Regions from separate parts of the Homo sapiens genome. Here region 2 is linked to region 1. Evidence: promoter capture Hi-C in 16 types of primary human blood cells and fetal thymus (Javierre and others, 2016). All regions are on one chromosome and are shown on one strand. The core of a region is centred on a gene start or on the middle of the fragment in contact, and the rest is flanking DNA. Distances in the headings are between cores, read along the strand shown. Region 1 holds the start of VSIG4 (V-set and immunoglobulin domain containing 4). Region 2 overlaps ARHGEF9 (Cdc42 guanine nucleotide exchange factor 9).

Region 1 (4,450 bases), core at 1,298-3,797:
GTACCTCCAGACCTCAGTTCTCTCAATAAGGAAAGGTTATTCATAATGTCTTCCTTGTGAGGTAAGGCCTAGGGATAATGTGCACAGCACAGAGCAGGAGTTCTACAAATGGTAGTTTTAGTATCACTTTACCTGGGAAGCCTTCCCACGCTACTATTTCCTTCACTAAATACTGCCCAAACCACAAGTTTTACAGCTCAGTTAATAATTCACCTTGTATTAGTGGTTCATATGTGTTTGTCTTTCCTTTACACTAAAATCTCACTTATACAGGGACCATACCTAACATTTCTTTTCTCTCCCTCACAACATCCAGAAAAGACCTGGAACTATTGTAGAAGTGGTCATTAAAGGTGTGAATGAAGCAGAATAGTGTGTTACTTAACAGTATCATTTCTGGAGGCATATAGCTAGGAGTTTGAATCTTGTCTAGGCACCCTCTATAAAAGTAAGTGATTTCACCATTCTGGGTTTTAGACACATTTGTAAAATGGGGATATATTGAATTCATTCATTCAACAAATATGTGGGCTCTACAATGAAAAAGAAAAGTAGTGTAAGGGAGTATAGAGTGGTAGGGAGAGATACAAGAGTATGTGCAATAATACCCACCTGAGGGGTTGTAAGAACCAAGGGAAATAACCCATGCAAGGTGCTTAATTCAGTGACTGGAAGAGTAAAAGATTTTAAATAGCAACTATCATTATATAGTTGTTATTGTATGTATAGTATAGTTTGATTTTTATAAATCTGAAAAGATACAAGCATCAAGTATAATTATGTTCATGTTACAATTAGGGAAGCTGAGGTTCAGAGAGATTTGACTTGTTCAAGATCTCAGAATGAAGTAGACACAGAGCCAGGCTTATCTCCAGGTTTCTGACTTCTCATCCAATTCTTTTACTAATCAAGAGGGCTACTGAGCCTACTGCAAGACTGGAAGTCTTTCCCAGCCTTGAAGTAATGTTGTGCATACTCCCCAGGACATTTATTTATCTTCAGATCCAGGAGGTCCTAATAAAATGCAAGAGGTAGCACAAAACACACAATCACCTGGCCAGGCAGAAATTTACATCTGTCCAGTGGGCTTTTTAGCGGGGAAGGGGAGGGGTGTGTGTGTGTGTATGTGTGTGCGTGTGTGTGTGTGTGTGTGTGTGTGTGTCTGTGCGGTGGTGGTGGTGTAGTGGTGATAGGGTGTTGGTTGAAAAATATCAAAGGAGGGTTCTGTGAAGTTCAGGGTTTCCTGAGTGAGGACCCGGTGGGAAAAAATGGCTGAAATTTCCAGTGAGATGGAATGAGTGCAGTACTCAAAAAACAAGGAACAACCAGCCAAGGGGGATTGGGCCCTAGAGGCAGAGGTGATTGATAGAATTCCATGTAATAATGTGTCCTGAAATGCTGGAATGTCTCCTTAGCCCGTGCACAGCTCCAAATCATCTGCATGCAGCCACCCCTTGGCAAGTATGTTTCTTTATATTCCCACTCCCCATCTCTGCACAAACTCCTCCCTCCCCTGACCAAGTCCTTTCCTATCCCTCCAATCAAAGAGTAAACTAAGCTTAGCTGTTACTTACAGTGCAGTATGAATTTTTGGGATGTATTTGTGCTTTTGAAAGTGCTTATTGTTTCAAAGCTTAGTAGACAAAGCGCAGTGCCAAACCTAGTTAGACTGCTGATGAAATTACAGTCACTCTGGGGCCTGTGAAGAGGAGCAATTTCTGGAGCAGTTGAGCTTTGCTAGGAGGCATAATATTACTCTCTTGTAGGTCAAGGGCCTGTACCAATTGGAAGTCAATGAAAAATTCAACCTAATACAGCATACCACTAATGGGCTGCTGCACTGGAGGCTAGGCTTAAATTTCCCTTAAAAGAAGTAAAAAATAAATTCCTTATGAAAAAGCATGGAGAACATTAATGAAAATGAATTCTCCCTTACCATCAGAGAGGTGGAGCCATTGTAGAAAGTGATTCAAAGAGCTTCCCCAATATGAGATATGAGGCATATTCACCCATAACAGCCTTATCCATTGGCTTGTCAATTATTCAAGCTTTGATGTGTAGAAAGCCCTTTAATACACTAAACTCTTGTACTCTTAAGCCCAAAAGCACCCCGGGCCCAACACCCTGTCCAGTTGCATAGGCTGCACAGGCAAGGGTTAACAGTACAACTAATGAAAATTGGGTAGGTCAGCAAAGTTGATCTCTTCTCCCTGGGCTCACCACAAAGGAAAACACCGCCATACTGGAGTGGGAAGACTCATCCCAAAGGTCGCCCCCACAACCTCTGAATCTTGTGGAGGAGACTCAAAATAAATACAGCCTAGGAGATCAAAGACCAGAAAGCCCCATTGGCTCCAAGGAAAGTCAAGTCAATACCCTAGCAGGGGGAAGAATTGCTTCACTCATCCTGGAACCTCCAACCCCAAGGAGGTGGGGGAAGGGGGGCACCCCACATGACCTGTACTGAAATAGGGAAGGAAGGGGAATGTGTGATGGGACTAGGAGTTTGAGTGAGAGATATAGGGAAGGAAGGGAAGTAAGCAGTCACAGACGCTGGCGGCCACCAGAAGTTTGAGCCTCTTTGGTAGCAGGAGGCTGGAAGAAAGGACAGAAGTAGCTCTGGCTGTGATGGGGATCTTACTGGGCCTGCTACTCCTGGGGCACCTAACAGTGGACACTTATGGTAAGGCAGAAAGGGGGGCCTGGCTGCCATTGCTGGCTTAGGCAAAAGGCTAGAGGGTTGGTGTTTAATGTCTACTATGGAAAGCCTATTCCTACTGGGCAGGTGAGTCTTCTCAGCCAAACTCTGCAGGCTCTCTCAGCCTTGAGCAAAACGGATGGATGTAGTTGAAGGCTGCTGAAGAAGCCAGAAGGCAAGTTTGGGCAGAAATTGAAAAAGGATTTTTCTCTTGGAAAACATCTGCATTATTTTCTAGGGCTTGTATCTCAGGGGCATCAAGAAGGTTCCCAATGACATCCGAATCTTTCCTCCATCTGCTGTCTCTCATCTAAAATTCTACAATTGGACTTAACCACTCTGCTTCCAAGCTTTGGTCTCTGTTAAAATATACAGCCCCCGAAGAAGGAGTGTTTTCTAAGAGTTGGATAGGACTATAGAAGTAACCTATACCACCCTTCATTGTCATGAATAAGTGCTCAGAAACATCCAGTAGTGATTGAGATTTCACTGTTCACTACCTCCCCAGACCATCTAGTCCATCCAGGAGCAGCTCCAACTGTTAGAAAGTTCTTATTTGTGTTGAACTAAATCCAGTTCCCTCTGACTTCCATCCAAAAACCCCAGCTTTGCTTCTTGGGGCTACACAGAACATAGATGCTTCCTTGCCCTGTGATAGCCCTTCAAAGCCCTGAGGACAAGTACTATGTCTCCTTGACTCTTCTCTCCTCCAAGCTGAACAGCCCCAGCTTTTTCAACTGGTCTTCATAGGACTTGGTTTCTTACCCATTCCTGGGATAACTCACTTCCCTATAGACATGGCTCAATTTGTCTGGGCTATTTATGGGCTGGATACAAATCCCAAAGGAGGATGGACTATTCCATAGTGGCATTATTTCCTTGGAGCTTGGGAAGCTCTATCCTCATCTACACTCCTGAGAAGTGAGATGGATTTTCAGGAAACTCAACCTGGGTAACAGCTAAGTGAGATCCAATATAGGGTAAAGGGGGATTTTGCTGCTTCCCTATCATCCCTAGAGAAAAAGGCTGGATAGGTGTTAGCTTGGTGTCACTTGTTAGGTCAGAAAGAATCCAGCTTTCCGTAGCTGACTCTGATTAGGTTACCCTATCCTGGGGCTCTGTGACCCATCACACTCTGGAACCTCAGAGTTAGAAAAGACTCTGAATTAAGTCAACCAAGAGAAAAAATAATTTGCCCCCAAGCCAAAGAGCATTAGTGGCAGAGTTAATGCTCCTGAAAAAACATTTTTCTTTCTATAACTACCACATTTCCATTCTCTAGCAGGTTTTATAATGTATCTCTCTACCTTCTCCAAGTCTGTTGGTTTGAGCTAGGGCTTAAGCCTGGGGCTTGAGGGAGCATTTTAGAAATGTTAAATTTAAATCCTTTGTTTGTGTGTGTGTATGTGTGTGTGCATTCATGTGTGTGTGTGTGTGTGTGTGTGTGAGAGAGAGAGAGAGCACTCATGTGTCTTGTTCCTTCCCCAGCCTATGAGCTTTTCCAGACCTGGAAGCAGGCCTTCCATTTGTACACAGGATCTTATACTATAGACCTCAGGCTCAGGTTATGCTGAGCTGCAAATAATACCTTCCCTCTCCCTGGACCTCATTGTTCCTAGCCCATCTGTACAGTGAGGAGGTTGACTTGACTGGTCTTAAAGGGGTTTCTCAGCTGGACAACTCTGTGGGACTGCAGCTTCACTGCTAAAAACCCTGTAGCGGCCAGAGTAAGCTGCTAGCCTCTTCCTGTGG
Region 2 (4,450 bases), core at 346-2,845, 2.3 Mb after region 1:
CCTCCTCTCCTTTCTAGCATGGTGGCTGTATGGACAGTCTGACAGAACAGAGACTGACATCTCCCAATCTGCCGGCCCCCCACCTGGAACACTACAGTGTTCTGCATTGCACCATGACCCTGGATGTGCAAACTGTAGTCGTTTTTGCCGTGATTGTAGTCCTCCTGCTTGTCAATGTCATACTCATGTTTTTCCTGGGAACGCGCTGAATGGAGTCCAGCCACCTGAGCTGTCGCGAACTCTCGCTTTGATTTCATCCCGAGAGCCACCGAGAAAAAAAAAAAATCACAGACAGAGACAGGGAAAGAGAGAGAAAGAACAAGCTTTCTTACTCAGGGGGGAAAACGTTTTGAGCTTCAACATGGCCTCGCTGTGATATGTATGACGTTGGTATATTATCTCTCCCTAAATCTTTTGTCGTGTCTTGTCTTTTAAGAATGCCTGCGCGTATAGTTGCCTATTGCTTGAGTGAAATTGTTGATGAAGAAATGCTTTCTATTTAAGTGTGCATGCGTGTGTGCATTTTTAATCTATGTGGCGTTCATGGAGCAAGCTCTGCGTCCTTAAACAGTGGCTTTGCTGTCTGTGGTGTCTTAACTCATTTCCTTGAAGACTACCTTTAAACTCCATCAGGGAATTTTAGTCAAAATTTCTCTCTTGCCATCAGGAGTGCATTTGGGTTTGTTTGAGGGGAAAAGGGTTTGTGGAAGAGCATGATGAATATTTGACATCATAGGAAAGACAGTCTTTGCAGTGGATATTTAGAGGGAAAATAATCGATGCAAGGAATGGATTTAGGGAAAATGCTTCTTTAGTGTCTAAGGAGAAGCAAGAATTTGGGAAGTGACACGGGTGTGTTGTGCTGGCAGTTGGTGACTGTGTCCTTTGAATCTCAATTTGCTCTCCAGGGTTCACAATTTTCAATTTTGAAAGAAGCCACATTTAAAACACTTCTTGAACCTTAAAGCTTTAAGATATTTAAAATGTCAATTTCCTTGGAATCATGAAATAGTATGTGAAAGCATTCTCTGATTTTTTGAACTGGCAAGAGAGGACTTTGACAGGAGCTATTTGGGCTCCCTTTCCCAAAGATTGTACCCCTGGATTTGAGTTTGGGGATTTTGTTTGTCTCATCAAAAAAAAAAAAAAACCCCACAAGAAAGAAAAAACAGCTCTTTATCCACCTTGGGAATAATAGTATTTGGATATGGCTCCTTTGGGATAATCTCGTTTGCAATGATGTTCTTGAACTACATTTTAAATGTAACTTGATAAGGCTGATGAGAAAGTGGTGATGCTATTGTTTGCTCCCGTTTGTTACTTTAAGATCAGAGGTCTCTGTAATTGAAACATTCCCATAACAAACTGAAAGTCTGTAATGTGCTAAATTAAGAGTTATCAAATTTTGGTGCTAAATTTGACCACCAAAACCCAAAAACGTCTAGAAGGAAAGGGATGAGAGCATGGAAAACATGAGCTGGAAGCAACATTCCAGTTTGAGATATGACTGCTTGTCTGTATCAGATGGTGGTGGTGGTTTCTGTTGTTATTGCTATTGCTATTATTTTTATATTTCTGTTTCCTCTGAGAAAGCTCTTGGCAGAGCCAGGAAAAAAAATGTCTCATGCCAGTCTGTATAATACTTGTTTTTTTGCGTTTTGATTTTCTTTCTCCCCTGTTAATGTAGGCAGGCTTTCCCCATTCCATTGCTTACCTGGCTTGAAATAATGCCATTTATGGCTCATGTATTATAGCAGTGAATCAGGACACATACACATCTACACACATGCTCCCCCTCCACCCATGTGGGTGGCTGTTCATGTCTGATGTGCAAATCTGCTGGCATTATGCTGTCAAGTTCCATGTCCGGTTGTTCAGTCTCTTTGGAAATGATTATGAAAGGAGAGGGGCTGTGAAGGGGGCCTTTGAAATTGTCTTGGCCACAGGACCCAGAGAGTATTATTTAATGGCGTCAGAGGGTGTTTTGGGCCTCAAAGCATGCTATCCTTGACTTGGTGTGGGTGAGAAGCTGAGGTTTTTGTGAGATTAGTACCATGGTGTAAACATGATCTGGGAGGTTTGCTGGCATTGGTTCTTATTAATTACTCTTTGGTCCGTTTGTGGAGACCCCCTGGATGGAACTGAGAACCTATTTCTTTGCAAAGATAATTTAGTGAGTTTTTTTCCCCCCTTAGCTTCATTGTATTATTTAAAGTAAGCTTATATCTTTTCTGGGCACTTTGTTTTGATACAGTGTTGGAGAGTGGGGAATGGCTCTATGCTGGGCAGCTGCAGACCTGTTTTTTTGTTTTGTTTTGTTTTGTTTTTTGTTTTTTCCATTCAGCAGCTGTTTGACCTTGGACAATTTTTTTCCTCCTCGGTGGGTTTGGGATTCCCAGTAACATTGGCATTTTTTGATGGCTCCACTAGGTGACTTCCAAGTTCTTGCATTTTATGATTTTATGACCCCTAGACACTTGAAGTTGTGGGGGGTGGGGGGGATGAGCTGGAAAGACAAGTGAAAAGGAAAAGAAAATGTTAATCAAAGGGTGATGGGAGGAGGGGAAGGATATCTGGTACTACAGCCTGGATAACAAGTTTAAGCGAAGGGGTTTTTTTTGCCTAGTTATTTGGGAAGGAAACTGGGACAGCAATAAGGGAATGCTTTTTGACTTTTTTTCCCCCAAGGGGAGAAGGGGTCTCTGAGACTAGTCTTTGATCTAGGTTTATGACTTAAATAGTGTCACGAAATGCCTTCTCCTCTGTGAGCCTGACAGACCTTTGGCAGAAAGCCTCTGGGAATGTATGTGTGTGTGTAGGGTGTGTGGCAGTATGTTCATGGGGGTGTGTGGGGGGGAGCACACTCCTGAGTGTGGATGCGGGGTGTGGTGGTAGGAATGAAGAAAGACAGTATTGAGTTCCACAGTTCTGAATAGCCTCCTTGTGCTAGGACCTATAAGGATTTCACAAATGCTGGGATGGATGGGTATCACCCATGCCATTCCTCTTTTCACCACCTAAAACCCCTCAGGCTAAGGAGGTGTCTTGAATGAGCCCTTCCATTAGTAATTTAGCTGTTGAAATGGGTTAGCGCTTTTAAAATTGTCTCCAGGCAAATAAAGGGATGTTGCTAGCCAGATGGCAGGCCACCATCTAGCAACCAGAAGGGAATTTGAGAGTAGAGAACAAAAGGTAGCAGTGTGACTTTTTACTTGTGTGAATCCTAAAGGTTTGGCATTTCTGCTTCAGACTTGTGAGGATATTTTTCTCTAGCAAAAAGAGAAAAGAGTGGGAGAAAATGAGAAATGCAGCCCAGAGAAGCGGAACCCTATGCATTTTGACTTGTCTTCTTTTTTCCTTCCTCCTCTGCCTTCTCTCTTAATCTTTCTCCTTCTTCCTTTCTTCCCACCCCTGACACCACCTCCTCCTCCCACCTCCCCACTGTAAATGGGTGAGAAGTAAAAAAGAGAAGAGGACTTTTCCTCTCTGATTTGTCCCAACTTTTCCCAATAAAGCTCCTCCATTCCCTTCCCTCCTCTCTGGCCCCTTTGAGTAGAGGATAAGCTTTTGCCATGTAGGAGGGGCAAAATCCCAGCTTAGGGATTTTCGCTCCTGGATCCCCATCAAAGAATTAAAGAAAATGCCCTCTACTGGTATCCTAGCAACCCCTGTATCACTGAGCACCCACTGAGCTCCAGAGCCCACCCTTTAAAGGCCCAGGCACCAATAACTCTAGAAAAAGGGGACTAGAGCCTAGTGGGACTTGGAGAGATGCTTTTGGGGAGGGAACAAAGAAAGAACAGAATCCCAATTTCCTGCAAATGCCTCGGAAACATGTCCACAGCAGACATGTAGAGCCTAGCCTCGTCCAGCTATGAGATTATTTATTAGAAAACTCCTGGTTTCAAATTCCTTTCTAGTCAGTCCCATCTCCTTAAGATTAACTGTGCCATTTTACTGCCTAGCTTTAGTGCCAGAAGCTCTGCCGGTCCTGAAAAAACAATTTTTTTCACCCTAACTTTTGGCTGCATCAGGGAGGGGGTGAAGTGATATCTTGGTGGGAACAAACTGAACAGCATTCTTCTTCCATTGAGACAGCCTCCATCTGTCAGAACCTGCAGTGTGCTTGTGCAGTGTGCCCCAATTTTGTCTGTGGCTTGGGGAATCCTGATCAGCCTAGCTTTATAGAATTTGGGAATTTTTCTTTCTGTGGTTTTGGTGTAGTAGTTTCTGACGGGGGAGGCTGGACAAGTTGAAAGAGCAAGTTTGATAATGGAGCTGGTAAACAGGGCTTGGACCCTGGCTCAGAGACTCTCACCCACCGGTGTGTGTGTGATTCAGCTACTAGGGAGCTGAAAGATCCCAAAAAGGCTGTAGGTGAGGTGCTCTTCTGCCCTTGAGGTAAGGCCCAGATTGAGAGCAACCAGAGGGCACAGTCTGGTGGTTTGAA

Evidence for each region. Contacts are between HindIII fragments. The CHiCAGO score rates a contact against its expected background, and 5 or more counts as called.
Region 2: a fragment that was not itself captured here is called in contact with the fragment with the promoter of VSIG4 in region 1 in 1 of 17 cell types (M0 macrophages); the score reaches 5.7 in M0 macrophages.

Annotation. Positions count from the first base shown.
Region 1 is chrX:66,038,177-66,042,626 of GRCh38, reverse strand. It overlaps VSIG4 (V-set and immunoglobulin domain containing 4), which reads left to right and starts at 2,547. Exons shown (of 8, transcript NM_007268.3): 1 at 2,547-2,683. The coding sequence starts at 2,629. The HindIII fragment of the contact is 1,000 bases long and covers 2,051-3,050 here.
Region 2 is chrX:63,750,244-63,754,693 of GRCh38, reverse strand. The region is part of intron 1 of ARHGEF9 (Cdc42 guanine nucleotide exchange factor 9); the gene reads left to right. It overlaps LOC128031833, which reads left to right and starts at 30. Exons shown (of 1, transcript NM_001414729.1): 1 at 30-209. The coding sequence starts at 30. The coding sequence ends at 209. The HindIII fragment of the contact is 1,252 bases long and covers 970-2,221 here.